2 separate regions of the Homo sapiens genome follow, and region 2 is linked to region 1. Evidence: promoter capture Hi-C in 16 types of primary human blood cells and fetal thymus (Javierre and others, 2016). All regions are on one chromosome and are shown on one strand. The core of a region is centred on a gene start or on the middle of the fragment in contact, and the rest is flanking DNA. Distances in the headings are between cores, read along the strand shown. Region 1 holds the start of EPHX1 (epoxide hydrolase 1). Region 2 overlaps SDE2 (spliceosome associated SDE2).

The links. The method cuts DNA at HindIII sites, captures the fragments that hold promoters and counts their contacts. A CHiCAGO score of 5 or more calls a contact.
Region 2: a fragment that was not itself captured here is called in contact with the fragment with the promoter of EPHX1 in region 1 in 1 of 17 cell types (erythroblasts); the score reaches 5.1 in erythroblasts.

The regions. Positions count from the first base shown.
Region 1 is chr1:225,806,192-225,814,088 of GRCh38, reverse strand. It overlaps EPHX1 (epoxide hydrolase 1), which reads right to left and starts at 3,965. Exons shown (of 9, transcript NM_001136018.4): 1 at 3,920-3,965. RefSeq lists a silencer at 3,788-4,007. The HindIII fragment of the contact is 4,776 bases long and covers 224-4,999 here.
Region 2 is chr1:225,977,499-225,985,395 of GRCh38, reverse strand. It overlaps SDE2 (spliceosome associated SDE2), which reads left to right. Exons shown (of 7, transcript NM_152608.4): 7 at 1-2,694. The coding sequence ends at 94. Among named protein-coding and RNA genes, the nearest start is that of SDE2, 18 kb to the left of the region's middle. The HindIII fragment of the contact is 1,549 bases long and covers 2,171-3,719 here.

The DNA.
Region 1 (7,897 bases), core at 2,716-5,215:
AAGCTCAGATATGTGAAGTAGTTAATCCAGCTCTTAAGTACCAAAAAGACATTCAAATTCAGTCTCTATTCATCAAACTTCCCAAATGCTAAAGGCAGCAAAAACTCCTGCTCCCGACCTAAGAACAAGGCCTGTGATCCTAGTTTGTGGAGTAGCTGGAGAATTTTCCAGAAGTCTCTTTAACTCCTCAGAGAAAAGAACACTTTCCCCTCTTCTGCAAGCTTGCTCAGTTAGGCCTTGGAGAGCCTAATGGGTGTGGCTGTGCGGGGGCTGGACCATGCACTAAACCACACCCACCCACCAGGCAACAGACGGAAAGACACAGACAGCAGGGCGGGTGGGCATGAGGACTCCACACCAGGTCTCTGAACCCATCTCCTGGAATGCCGTAGGTCAGGCTGTGGCAGTCAAATGGCTGCTTTCTGCTGAGAAAGGATGAACTATGACTTCCCCTGGGAAAGTAAATAAACCTTGACAATAGGGGAGGCTGCTCAGTGTGAGCTTGGTTTGCACAATCGTGTGCTCAGTTATATAACGGAGGATTGGATTGCGCAGTTTTCTCCTTGTTGAGAGGAAGCTCTTCCTGGAGCGCCCACCAGCTCCTCCCTCCTCAGGAGAGGGGTGTGGCTGGATCCTTGGCAACGCTTTGGTCCCCTAACGGGGGAACTGCTGGGGTGCCTTCTCCCTCCTGCAATCCCCACCTTATCCCACAGCCCCTTGGAGACTCTGCTCCTAAGCCACTAGGTCTGGGTCAAGAACCACACACAGGCAGCCCAGGGGGCCAGCTGGGCTGGGCAGTGACCCTCCTGCCTTGACTCAGGGCTCTTGAACTCTTAAGATTTTGCCTCCCCTACCCTGTGGCCAGGGCCTTCACTCTAGTTGAAGTGTCTTCACTGGACCCAGCAGAGGCTACAGGGCCCACTGAGTCCCTTCAAAACTTACTGTTTCCCTCCTACACATTCCTTTCCTGAAATCCCTTCAGACTTTGCCACAGAATCATCACATAGCAGAGCTGCAAGAAGGCCTGCAGATCGCTGAGCCTAACCTCATTTTACAGATGAGGTCCAGAGAGGGGACACATTAATGGCAGAGCTGGGACATGAGCCAAGTCTTTTTTCCAGCCCAATCCTCTTCCCACATCACTGTATTACCTCTCAAAGGAATGAATTGCTGTTGATGGGATTTATGGCCCTAGCAGAGGTGGGTTTTCAGTATGAGATCCTAGGCACCCCTCGAATCACTATCTGTCTATCCCATCTGTGCCCACTCTGTCCCCGAGTGGGTGGGCTTCGAGCTACTTCTTCAGCAGGGGTGACCAGCTCATGCTTGGTCCTCCCTTATTTGGTACACCCAGCTGTGATCCATGTGGTTGAACCTCTTGGCGTAAGAACTGAGAAATGAATCTCGGTAGCCCCTGCTTTCACATGTCTGGGCCTGGGCCAAGATACCAGAACGGGAATCAAGGTGCCAGGTGAGCAATCACCAAGCCTGGGTATCAGGTCGACAGGAGGGGCACTGTGCATTGGTGAACCTGGGCTCCCTGAAAATGCCAGTTATGCTTAAGACATCAGGCAGGAACCAGGACACCCCAGGAGAGTCACTCCACCTCCTGCAGTGGTCAAGATGCCCTTTCTGCAAAGGTCCCTCTGCCCACAGAGCCCTCATTCAGGGCTTCCTGAAGATGTTCCCAGCCGCGTAAGTCCATGCCAGCTAGTGTGCTTCAGGCACAGCTGAGAGGCAGGAGGCATCACGCAGAGAGCATGTGGCTTGTCACAGATGGTGCTGAGGTTCACCCTGGCTGTCTTGCTGAGTAGTTATTTTCTGTGGAAGGTCCTTCCTTTCCTGGAATTGGGAAGAAGGCCGCAGAAAGCTCAGGAGTCCCCTCACTTACAGACTGAGCTAGTTCAGTTTATCCAGTAGGTCACTCATCAGCTTGACCCACACTCTGCAAACACAAACATCAGGCCATTCAAGCTGGGCACACTCCTGCCCCCAGCCTTTGCACCTGCACCCCAGGCAGCAGCTTGGCTGCTCCCTAACTCTTCAGGTCTATGCCAGTGCCACCCTTCAGTGAGGCCTTCCCTTTCCACCTGGCACTCCTCTCCCCTCTTTAAAGTTTTATTTATCTCCATATTACACATCATCTTCTAACATACTTTATAGTTTACAAATGTATTTTGTTTATTATCCCTCTGCCCCTAGAACTGCAAATCCCACGAGGGCATGCTCCCCGCTGTGCCTCAGTTCCACAGTGAGCAGTTCCTAAGTACCGCCCATGCCTCCTCAGCGCCTCCTAGGTGTGGAAATTTGGGAAAGAAAAACTGCTTGGAGAGCACTCGCAGAGTTTTTGCTGCTAAGTCAGACCAAGTGGGGCCAGTGAAAGGCCCCCTATTATCCCCCAAACCTAGCTCCCTGAAGGAGGCAACCGTTACACCAGAAAACAATGTTACTTTCTGGAGAAGTGTGGCTTCCTGAAAATGTTTATTTTAAATTATGCTGGATGCAGAGGAGGCTGCACAGTGGTACCGAAACAGCCACCAACCCCAAGGTCCTCAACAATTTTCCACCAACAGCTCATCAATCCCAGCAAAGGGCTGTCCTGGAAGCGGGCCTGCCAAGTGCATGGGTCCCCCTCACCTCCCACCTCCAGCCACAAGCTGAGCCCTCACAGAACTTCCAGGACAACGAGTGTTGCCTGTAGGGGCGGATCCAGGCTTTGCGGAACCTGAAGTTTAAACAATGGGAGGTGGGCTATGGAGGGGGCATTCAACTTTAAGAAAAAAAAGTCAAAATTAGGATTACAACATTGCTAGGCACCCCACCTCCAAGATCTCGGGAGCCGCCAGGGCAAGGAAGGAGCCAGAAGCTCAGAGAAAACCGACATCTGCCAGGGAGGGAGGCAGGCGGCCACTCGGTCTCCGCGGCGCTTTTGCTCAGGTTGACCACATTCCCTGGCTTCAACTACAAGGTGAACTCCCGGGCAAGTTTCCTGTTCTACAAGAGGAGAGGGCTGGCCTTCAATCCCGAGACCAGAGCGAGGGGGTGCCGGGCGGCGGCTGCGGCAGCAGATGGAGATGAAAGCGCATTTCAACTAAAAGGTGTGATCAGTGTCAGGCCTCTGAGCCGAAGCTAAGCCATCATATCCCCTGTGGCCTGCACCTACACATCCAGATGGCCGGTTCCTGCCTTAACTGATGTCATTCCACCACAAAAGTGAAAATGACCTGTTCCTGCCTTAACTGATGACATTGTCTTGTGAAATTCCTTCTCCTGGCTCATCCTGGCTCAAAAGCTCCCCTACTGAGCACCTTGTGACCCCCCCCACTCTGCCCGCCAGAGAACCCCCCTTTGACTGTAATTTTCCTTTACCTACCCAAATCCTATAAAACGGCCCCACCCCTATCTCCCTTGGCTGACTCTTTTCGGACTCAGCCCGCCTGCACCCAGGTGAAATAAACAGCCATGTTGCTCACACAAAGCCTGTTTGGTGGTCTCTTCACACGGACGCGCATGAAAATCAGTGTTCCGACTTGGGTGACAAATTAAGTGCATTTCACCGCCGAGCGAGCCACGGCCCTGGAAGCAGAGCTCGCCCAGGCCAGGGGACGCGGTGCGCTCTCGGGGTCGCGAGCCTCCCTCCCTGCGGCGTCCGCCCACAGTCTGGGACGCGGAATTCCCTGCGAGAAGTCCGCGGTCGCCTGCAGGCTCCTTCCCCCAGTAGGCGGCACGCGCAGTCTCCTGGCCGGGGCAGGAGCTGGGGGCGGACCAACTACAAGTCCCTCTGCACCCCTGCGGGCCGACCGCAGCCCCGACCCCTCGGCGCCCCGGCCCGCCGCCCACCCCGGCGGCCGAGCCCGCGCGGAGCCCGAACCGCGTCTGCGTCCGGGGAGTGCGGGCCCGGCCGGCCCCGGGCGCTTACGGTCTCGGCTCGCAGGCTCCGGCGGCGGCAGGCGCGCGATCTCTCCGGCTCCCTGGCTCTCCTCGGCTAGTTTTCAGCAGCCCCGGCGCAGTCTCCGCCCAAGCCCGGCCTCCGAGCGGGGCGTTCCCCGGCCTGGAGGACCCGGGAAAGTCTCTAGGCCTGCCTAAGGCTCCACCTCTGCCAGGGATAAAACGGGCTACTTAAAGGGCGGTCCGCGGCCCCGCGGCCAGAAATGGAGAGAAGCGTTTGGCAGCTCCTACAGCAGTTTGATCCCGTAACTTCGTCAGTTGAATCTAAAAACAAAAATCCAAACTTGCATGATGTATGTCCTTTTTTTTTTTGGAGACAGAGTCTCACTCTATCACCCAGGCTGGAGTGCAGTGGTGCGATCTCGGCTCACTGCAGCCTCAAGCGATCCTCCCACTTCGGCCTCCAGAATAGCTGGGACTACAGACTGCGCCACCACACCTGGCTAATTTTTTAAGTTTTGTAGATACGGGGGTCTCACTTTGTTGCCTAGGCTGATCTTGAACTCCTGGGCTCAAGCGATGCACCTACCTCCGCCTCCCAAAGTGGTGAGATTATGGGCGTGAGCCACTGCACCTGGCGGTGTATGTCTTTTTAATTTCATCTTTCTAGCAATTCATTCTTAGTATATTTAACAAACATATTGGTCCGTGACATGCTTGGAAATCTAAAAACAAATTAGTGTCTTTATACAGAGAATGTGAGAAGCAATGGTCTGAAGCACTCTTGGGGGTCTTCATGGTGAGGACCAGTATAGGATGCTGAGTTCAATGCCAGGGGAGCAACCTCTTAGTGAATCCCCTCCCGCTTTGGAGAGAGCTCAGGGCCCAGGCGGGTGGTTGCTGGGGCTCTTTTAGCTTCCGTGAGAGCGTTGATCCCCAGCCCCTCATCGTTAGAAAGCCTGTCCCATCGCCTCTGCCATCACCCCTCCTTAGCTTCTCTCTTCACCTGCTCAGAGGTGCAGTTCTTTCAACCACCAGCATCCTCACGATCTCGGTGGACAGACTACAGCTAGGAGGCCACATGCAGGGCCCGTGGCTGGAGTTCTAAGCTTCTGACTGTCACCTTGCACACTTCAGGATAAGGTTCACCACCACCCACCTTCCCTTGGCCTCCAACCTTTCTGCTCACCCTGGCCCAAGAATTCTGGCCGGCAGACGCACTCACCTCACTCCCACCTCCAAACTTTTGCTCTTGCAGTACTGCCGGACAGGGTGCCCTCCTCCATCCACATGTAGAGTCCTCTTGTCCTTTAATTCTACACCCTCCTATAAAAGCTTTCTCTTGCAACTGCAGTCTCTGACATCTCTGTATTCCTTTCAGAACCTGCAGTCTGGGAGAGTTCTTTCCCCTCCCCTCCAAATAGTTCACACAGAAGCTCTGCCTCTGGCCACTTCACCAGGGGACCCAAATTCGTTACTCTTAAAACTGCAGTGATGGTGAAACAGGTAGGAGTCAGGACTTAACGCCAGAGGTGGGGCTTGGACACCAGATTGAGGACCAAATTGAGGACTAGCTAAAACAGGGACTGGGTGGAAGATGAGCATAAGATATGCCCATCATATCAGTGTGCCATGTCAGTTTACCAGGGCACGCCCCTGGAGTTATCACCCCCCTTCCATGGCAATGACCCGAGGACCCAAAAGTTACTACCCTTTTCCTAGAAATGTCTGCATAAACTGCCCCTTAATCTGCATGTAACTAAAAGTGGGTATCAACATGACTGCAGAATCGCCCAGAGCTGCTGCTCTCAGCACACTGCCTGTGGGGCAGCCCTGCACTGCAGGAGCAGGCCCCCTCTGCTGCTGCTGGACACCGCCACCTCCATAAAAGTTGCTGTCTCACACCACGGGCTCTCTCTTGAATTCTTTCCTGGACAAAGCTAAAAACCCTGCTGGGCTGAGACCCAATCTGGGGTCTCAGCTGCCCTGCATCAAAACTCTTCTAAAATTAGATATTGGTGATGGTTACATCACTACAAGTCTGTAAATATACCAAAACCCGTGAAATTTTACACTCTTAAAGGGTGAGTTTTATGGGTATGTGAATTATGTCTCAATACAGTTGTTATTTTATTTATTTATTTGTTTGTTTTTGAGATACAGTCTCACTCTGTTGCCCAGGTTGGAGCGCAATGGCACAATCTCGGCTCACTGCAACCTCCGCCTCCCAGGTTCAAGTGATCCTCGTGCCTCAGCCTCCCAAGCCGCTGGAATTACAGGCACTTGCCACCACACCCAGCTAATTTTTGTATTTTTAGTAGAGATGGGGTTTCACCATGTTGGCCAGGTGGGTCTCAAACTCCTGACCTCAAGTGATTTGCCTGCCCTGGCCTCCCAAAGTACTGGGATTACAGGCGTGAGCCACCAGGTGTGGCCAAAGCTGTTGTTTTTCAAAAACTGCATTAAAATGGCAACCTCTTGTATCCTAATACCCTCCTACTTGGTTAATCATCCATCCAGCGTTGGGCTGCGAAATCTAAAATAGTGCAAGATATTTCTAAGTACAGTCTACATATGGGCAGTGTAGAAACAAATGCATCAGAGTCCAACTCAGCAGGGCAAAATTTAGACAGATTTTCACTGCTTTTGGCTAAAAGCCATTGAAAGGTTTACGGGGCAAAAGAATGGGTACAGTGTGCTCTTTAGAATAAATTATATTGTGTAAAAAATCAGAGCAAGGCTGTTGTTCTGCATAAACATCTGGAGAGTTTCCAGGTACATCAGGTAGAATGAAATAATGTGTGGGAGGCAATCTTGGATAAAAATTGTAGATCAATTCCTGATTCAACAAAAAGGAAACAACATTGTTTCTGCCAAAAATGCACAATATGGATAGAATCATGAGGAAACATTGCACAAACCCGACATTAACATTCTACAGGCTGGGTGCGGTGGCTCAGGCCTGTAATCCCAGCACTTTGGGAGGCCGAGGCAGGTGGATCACCTGAGGTCAGGAGTTTGAGACCAGCCTGAACAACATGGAGAAACCCCGTCTCTACTAAAAATACAAAATTAACCCAGCATGGTGGTGCATGCCTGTAATCCCAGCTACTTGGGGGGCTGAGACAGGAGAATCACTTGAACCCAGGAAGCAGAGGTTGTGGTGAGCAGAGATCACACCATTGCACACTCCAGCCTGGGCAGCAAGAGCGAAACTCCATCTCGAAAAAAAAAAAAAAAATCTACAAAATAGCTGGCTTGCACTTTTCAAAAATGTCAGTGTGAAAAAAGGGCAATGTAATGAAAGATATGGAAAGACTGAGAAGCTCTTCCTGATTAAGGGGGACAAAAGAGCTGCGAAACCTCATTGCAGTGCTCTCTGTTCTAGATTGGATCCTGGCCCAGAAAAAAAATTTATATAAAGAATATTGTTGGGACAATTGGGGAAATTTGAAGGAGTTCTGTAGATTCAATAATAGATTATATTAATGTTAAATATCTTGAGTTTGAAAACTGAATTGTTTCTTAAGTGAACGTCACTGATCTTAAAAAAATGTACACTGAAGTATTCAGTTGGTGCAAAGGTATTTGCGGTTTTGCCATTACTTTCAATGGCAAAAACCACAATTACTTTTGCACCAACCTAATATTTAAGGAATCATGTTTGAAATTTAAAATGTTTCAGTGTGTACACATATATAGGAACTATATGTGTGTGTGTGTATATATGTGTGTATGTATATATATGTGTGTGTGTATATGTGTGTGTGTATATGTGTGTGTATATATGTGTGTGTATATATATACACACACACACAGAGATATTGAATTAGAAAGCAAATGCAGCAAAGTGTTAACAATTAGTGTCTGGGTAAGACATGTATGGGAGTTTTGCAACTTTACTGTAAGTTTACTGCCATTAATTACCATTATCTACAGCTAATGACATTCAGAGGCCCCATAACAAAACAGCTGACTCCCTATTTGATCACCTGCCATTGAGGCCAAT
Region 2 (7,897 bases), core at 1,696-4,195, 170 kb before region 1:
GCGGGCAGCAAGACTCTTCTCTGTCAGAGGACTGGCAAAGGAGCAAATTGACCCGGCTTTATTTGCCAAGCCTTTGAAAGGGAAGAAAAAATGAGTATCATCAGAGCTGATTCCTATTTGTTTATAGTGTCTACCATTTACAACCTGCATAATGTGGACTCTTGACCAGTATTCCTGTTGATATTAAAAGCTAACTTTTTAGTAACCCAATTCTAACTATCCCCTTTTTCCTTGTCAGGGCTGTAGAATTAATGTCTGAAACCATCTGGGCCTTAAATTTTCTTTGTCTGGTTTTCTATAGTGTATTTAATAAATATAGGGCTATTCACATTTTTTGGTTTGATCTTGGTGTCATTTAGGTAATGAATCTATCCAAGAAATCTATCCTTTTGACCCAGGTTATCAAATTTGTAGACATAAGGTTATTTATAATGGTCCCTTCTTACCCTTTTAATGTCTTTAGGAGCTGTGTTGATAATTTCCTTTTCATTATGATACTGGTAATTTCTGTTCTCACTTTCCTAATCAGGTTGGGTAGGGGTTTATCAGTTTTACTGATCTGACTTTTTATTTTATTTTATTTTTTTTGAGACAGTCTTACACTGTCTCCCAGGCTGGAGTGCAGTGGCGCGATCTCGGCTTACTGCAAGCTCTGCCTTCCGGGTTCATGCCATTCTCCTGCCTCAGCCTCCCCAGTAGCTGGGACTACAGGCTCCCACCACCACGCCCGGCTAATTTTTTATATTTTTAGTGGAGACTGGGTTTCACTGTGTTAGCCAGGATGGTCTCGATCTCTTTACCTCGTGGTCCACCCGCCTCAGCCTCCCAGAGTGCTGGGATTACAGGCGTGAGCCACCGTGCCTGGCCGACGATATAACTTTTAAAGAACCAACCTTTGGTTTTATTTTTCTCAATTGTTTATATAATTAATTTCTGTTATTTTCTTTCTTCTATTTAGCTTGAGTCTCCTTTGATCTTTTTTCTTTAGTTCCTTAAGATAAGCCTTAGGTCATTGATCTTAGACGTTATTTAAAATACATATTTAAAGCTATACATTTTCTTTTAAGCATTACTTTAGTTGCGACTTTACAATTTTATTATGTCGTATTTTTATTATTCAGTTCTAATTTTCTTTTTTTTTTCTTTTTGAGATGGAATTTCGCTTTTGTTGCCCAGGCTAGAGTGCAATGGTACGATCTCAGCTCACTGCAACCTCTGCCTCCTGGGTTCAAGCGATTCTCCTGCCTCAGCCTCCTCAGTAGCTGGGATTACAGGCTCCAGCCACCATACCTGGCTGATTTTTGTATTTTTAGTAGAGATGGGGTTTCACCACATTGGCCAGGCTGGTCTCGAACTCCTGACCTCAGGTGATCCACCCACTTTGGCCTCCCAAAGTGCTGGGATTACAGGTGTGAGCCACCATGCCCAGCCTCTGATTATTTTCTAATTTCCTCCCTCAGTTCTTCTTTGACCCATGGATTATCAGAAGTGGGTTGTCTGATCAGCAAACATTTGTTTTTTTTCCTCTTAATATCTTCTTGTTGCTGATTTCTACTTTAATTCCATTGAGGTCAGAAAATATCCTCTTTATGATTTCAATCCTCTTAGTTTTATTGAGACTCGTTTTATGACCCAATATGTTGTCTGTCATGGTGAGTGTACCATACACAGTTTAAAAGAATGCGTATTTTAGGCCAGGTGTGGTGGCTCATGCCTGTAATCCAGCATGAGATTACATGCTGAGATTACAGCTGTAATCTGTAATTTGAGAGGCTGAGGTGGGAGGATCATTTCGAGACCAGCCTGGGCAATGTATAGTGAGACCATGTCTCTAAGAAAAACAATATGTAATTTGAATTGTTGGGTTAATATGTTTTGTAATATCGATGAGATTAAGTGGTTGATAGTATTGTTCAGATCTTCTATGTCTTTACTGATCCTTTTGTTTATTTCTATCAGGTGCTGAGAAAGGATGTTAAAATCTTCAATTATGATTGTGGAATTGTCTATTTCTTAAATTCTACCAGTTTTTGTATGAAGCTCTAATAACTTATGTCTTCCTAATGTATTGACCATTTTATCATTATGAAATTTCCCTCTGTCTCTGGTAATTTGGGTTTGAAATCTACTTTATCTTATGTGAATATAGCCACTGCAGCCTTCTTAAGCTTAGTGTTTGCACAGTATACCTCTTTCTATTAATTTACTTTGTGCTTCTGTGCCTATTTAAAGTAGTTTCTTTAAACAACATATACTTGAGACTTGCATTTTTATCTGTTCTCTCTGTATCTTTTAATAAGTTTAACATTAAATGTAATTATTAATAGGTTTCTAATTTACATGTTTCCTGTTTAGATAAGATTATTTTATAATTGTATTTTAATTTATTGGCTCTTTAGCTATACTGTTTTAATAATTTTTTTAAGTTGGATGTTCTAGTGATTACAATATACATTCTTAATTTTTCAGTCTACCTAGAGTTGATGTGCCACTTCACATAAAATGTAGAAATCTTGTAAGTATGTACATCCATTTATCATACCTGTCTTTTATGCTGTAGTTGTCATACATATTAAATCTACATATTTAAATATTGTAAGTCCTGTCATAAGTTACAATTTCTGCTTTAAATAATGATATGTATTTTAAAGAAATTAAGAGGAAAAAATAAAATCTTTTGTATTTATTCACATATTTACCATTTCTAATATTCTTCATTTCTTCTTAAAGATCTAATAGCCTTTCCCTTAAGACGGAAGAACTTTCTATAGCATTTTTTGTGTCTCCTGGCAACAAATTAGTTTTCTTTTTCTTTTTCCCTTTTTTTTTTTTTTTTTGAGATGGAGTTTCGCTCTCATTGCCCAGGCTGGAGTGCAATGACACAATCTCGGCTCACTGCATCCACCATCTCCTGGGTTCAAGCAATTCTCCTACCTCAGCCTCCCAAGTAACTGGGATTACAGACATGTGCCACCACACCTGGCTCATTTTGTATTTTTAGTAGAGATGGGGTTTCTCCATGTTGGTCAGGCTGGTCTCAACTCCTGACCTTGTGAACCACCCACCTCGGCCTCCCAAAGTGCTGGGATTACCACCGTGCCTGGCCAGTTTTCTCTTTTTTAAAAAGAATCTCTTCGCTAGGTGCAGTGGCTCAGGCCTGTAATCCCAGCACTTTGGGAGGCTGAGGCGGGCAGATCATTTGAGGTCAGGAGTTCAAGACCAGTCTGGCCTTCATGATGAAATGCTGTCTCTACTAAAAATACAAAAAAATGAGCCAGGTGTGGCAGTGCGTGCCTGTAATCCCAGCTACTTGAGAGGCTTAGGCATGAGAATTGCTTGAACCCAGGAGGCGGAGGTTGCAATGAGCCAAGATCATGCCACTGCACCCCAGCCTGGGTGACAGAGTGAGACCCTGTCTCAAAAAATAAAAAGAATCTCTTTACAGATCTTGTTCCACTGTCTTCTGGCCTTCATTGTTTCTGATGACAAATCAGTGGGTATTCAAATAGTTTTTCCCTTTATAGAATGCGTCTTTCTCTTTGGCAGCTTTCAGGTGTGGTTTTCTATGTATTTATCTTGGGAGTTTGATGAATTTCTTGGCTCTCTAAATTTATGCCATTTAATCAAATATAGGAAAGTGTCAGCCATTATTTCCTCAGATCTTTTTCCTGACCCATGTTTTCTCTTTCCTGGGACTTCAGTTATAAATATACTAAGCTTCGGTCTCAGTCTCCGAGTCTCTGTCTTTTTTTTTTTTTTTTTCCACCAAACGCTTCTCTCTGTTCTTCAGATGATTTCTGTAATATAGCTAAGTTGATGGAGAGTCTTCAAGCCAAAGTTGCCTTTTGGAGGAGTTGGCATCTTGCCAGAATGGGCCTGCCTTAGTACCTGTACTGTGCACGTTGGCTATAAAGAGTCCCCAGAAAGTGTGGCCTGAGTGTGAACCCGGTGGCCCCAGAGCATCACTGAGTGATGCTCCCCACAGCAGGAGATCTGAGAGGCGTATTTTCGTGGCTGCCACAGTATGTTCTGTTGCTTAGGGAGGATTATTTTTCTAGCTTGGGTAGTTGGAAACAGTTTTCTTCAAATTATGTGGGTGCCTGTTCAGATCTTAAAAAGCACACCCAAAGGGAGAAGGGAAACATTTAGATTTAGTGAAGGTTTACTTTTTAAAATTTTTTTATTTTATTTTATTTTTAGATGGAGTCTTGCTCTGTCGCCCAGGCTGGAGTGCAGTGGCGCCATCTTGGCTCACTGCAAGTTCCACCTCCCGGGTTCACGCCATTATCCTGCCTCAGCCTCCCAAGTAGCTGGGACTACAGGCACGTGCCACCACACCCGGCTAATTTTTTTGTATTTTTAGTAGAGACGGGGTTTCACTGTATTAGTCAGGATGGTCTCGATTTCCTGACCTGGGGATCCGCCCACCTTGGCCTCCTAAAGTGCAGGGATTACAGGCCTGAGCCACCGCGCCCAGCATAGTGAAGGTTTACTTTACAAGATCAGGGTTCATCTTTGAGAGACTCAGGCAGCCATGCCCAAAGAATTTCTTTCTTTTGTGGCAGCATGAAGCTGGCTGGGCCAGTGCCCCTTTCCTAATTGGCCTGGTTATCCTCTTCAGGTTGCCAGAGCACTAGCTGGGCCCTGCTTTATTTAGCATGGGAGTGTGAGCAGCTGTTGCCCTGCTCCCTGCAGGCAAATAGACCTTGACTGGCAAAATGAAAAGACTATAGAGTTTTCTAATTGCCCCCTCTCTTGTAGCATTAAAGGCTAAAAGTAAGGAGGCTGCTGATGAGCAGAAACTGACCATCTAGCCTCTCTTCCTAGGTGGCTGTAGTTCTTCCAGCCCTCGCTGATCTGTGCGTGGGGATGTTAATGGGCTTTTGCTGTGGGTCCATTTCACTCACCCACACATTTTGTTTTGGAGATAGCTACCTTCCTCCTTCCTCTTCTAGTACTCGTACCGCAAGCTTCCTCATTATATTCCTTTTGTCAGTTCAAATGGGAGTTTGCAAGAGGGAATTAAACAAATATGCTCAGATTACCATCTTGAGCCAGCACCTGTTAGTGATTTTCAAGGTGAAAAGTACCCCCCCCCGAGAAAGTCTAGGAACACCAGGTGTTAATTCTAGGCTGGTTCTGATCAAAATCTTAAAAATGTTGACTTAAACTTTATGGCCTTATTTGTGTGCCTGAACTAGAATACAGGAAAAGATATTATGGACTCCAGGTGGCCCTGTGCCACCCACACTGTTGCTGCAAGTCACCTGCCTATTGGCCTGTTTCTGGGAGGGATCTCTGATTCAGTCAGTGCCAGTCTCATCTCTGGTATGTTTGGTACTACTTTTTCTTTGCATTCACCTTCATGAGATTTCCTTTGAGAAAAACTAAATTAATGATGCTCTATAAAGTAAGCCTACACTCAAACCATTCATAGGTCATTGATTCAGGATGGCCCCCACATAATACTGCTGAGCTGAAGGAAAGAATGTGCATGGTCATACTTCGGTTTTCCCTGGAATACAGGCCATGTGGTGTGGTGGGCCTTAGGGCAAGGGTTTTAGGGTTACTGATCTGGGTCTAAAATCCTGATTTTCCTCCTTTCTAATAGTGTTTCCTCAGACAAGCTCCATAGCCTTTCTGAGCATCAGTTTTCTGCTCCTGCTATTAAATGGGGTCATATCTACTTTTAGGGATGTTAGGGTTAAATAAAGTAGTATGTAAGGTTCCTAGCACAGTGCTTAGCAAATTTGTAGTTGCTCAGTAAATGGAAGCTATTGGAATACTCTACAGCACCATTGTCCAATAGAAATGTAACATGAGCCAGATAATGTAATTTTACATTTTCTTTCAGTCATTAAAAAGTACAAAGAATTAGCCAGGTGTGGTTGTGCGTGCCTATAGTTCCAGCTACTTGGGAGGCTGAGGTGGGAGGATTGCTTGAGTCCAGGAGTTGGAGGCTGCAGTGAAATTTTTTTTTTTTTTTTTTTGAGATGGAATCTCACTCTGCTGCCCAGGCTGGAGTGCAGTGGCATGATCTTGGCTCACTGCAACCTCCGCCTCTCGAGTTCAAGTGATTCTCCTGCCTCAGCCTCCTGAGTAACTGGACTTACAGGCACGTGCCACAACGCCCAGCTAATTTTTGTATTTTTTTTGTAGAGATAGAGTTTCACCATGTTGGCCAGGCTGGTATTGAACTCCTGACCTCAGGTGATCTGCATGCCTCAGCCTCCCAGAGTGCTGGGATTATAGGCATGAGCCACCACGCCCGGCCAATGATACAGTGAACTTTGAAGGCGTCACTGCAACTCCAGCCTGGGCGACAGAGTGAGACCTCATCTCAAAAAAAAAAAAAAAAAAAAAAAAAAAAAATTACAAAGAAGCAGGTGAAATTAATTTTAGCAATATATTTTATTTAACCCAAAAATATTCAAAATATTTCAATAATAGAAAATTATTGAGATAGTTTACATTTTTGTGCTAAGTCTGAAATCTGGTGTGTATTTTATACTTACAGCACTTTTCAATTCACAGTGGCTACATTCCAGGTGCTTAATAGCCCCGTGTGACTTTGAGCTCCTGTATTAGGCAGTGCCCCTCTAGAACACATCTTAAGGCAAGGCAGTGAGCACAGCAGAACTGTCCACCTTAATCCAAACACACGTGTACAGAGCTGAATCAAAGCCACATGAGGCTGGGAGGACTTGGGGCTTTTAGCACGCTCTGCCCTTCCCTCAGCCACCCTTGTGATAAGTGGAATATATGTAAAATAAAAGCGTTATGACCAGTCAGATGTCTTTCCTGTGGGGACTCCTTACATGCCAGGCTGGCAGAGGTGCAGAAACAAGTGCGAGAGCTGTGGTCTGTGAGTCCTAACCTTGGCCTTGCTGGTGTGGGGCTGGGTGACCTCATCTGGCAAACTGCGGTATCTGTTTAATTTTATGAATTGAGCTGTGAGGCATAGCTGAAATTTGCATGGGGGTGACAAACATACTTTAAAGCATCTTGCAAAAAAGTAGTAAGAATTAGGAGTTGTAGACAAATGCTCAATGAAAACAGGAGTGTGATACTGGGTATTGCACCATACCGTAGTGCTGGATCCCTCAGTTTACTAAGTAGATCTTTTGGTCCAATTACGGGGTAGTGTAGGAATGGCGATTAGCCTGGTATGTCCCATCTCTCCTTGTTGAAGTTCTGCTTTTTTTTTTTTTGAGATGAGGTCTCGCTATGTAACTCATGCTGGAGTGTAGTGGCACAATCACAGTTCACTGCAGCCTCCACCGCTCGGGCTGGGACCACAGGCATGTGCCACCTTGCCCGGCTAATCTTTTAAAAATTACTTGCAGAGACAAGGTCTCACTGTGTTGCCAGGCTGGTACTTAACTTCGAAGACGGCTCACAGGCTGCCTCTTCCAACTGCGAGCCTCAGTGAGGAAACAGTGGGCTTGTTGTGGAGTTTATTCTGCAGCCCTCCAGCCTGCAAACATTAATTGTGCATGTCTGATTAGTAAAACATTTGGGGGTGCACCCCACATGATGTCACTCATCTGTCAGAGCCCTCCATCGGCCTTGGAGTACAAGCCCACGCACTTGCAGTGGCCAGCAATCCCCTCTCAGGCTGCACGCCTCTCCCCTCTCTGACCTCATCTACTCCTCCTCACTCCACCACAGCCCCCGGGGCCTCCTTGCTGTTTCCTGAACCAACCAAACACACTGTGCTCCCCTGGCGTGGCACAGACTGTCCCTCCTTCCAGAACAGTCTTTTTCCAGACGTCCCCAGGGAAGACTCTCTCACCTTTCACTCGGTTTAAAATGGCAACCCCCACCCCCATCACTTTCTTTCCTGACTGGTTGGTTGTTTTGTTTTTTTGAGACAGCCTCGCTGTGTCGCCCAGGC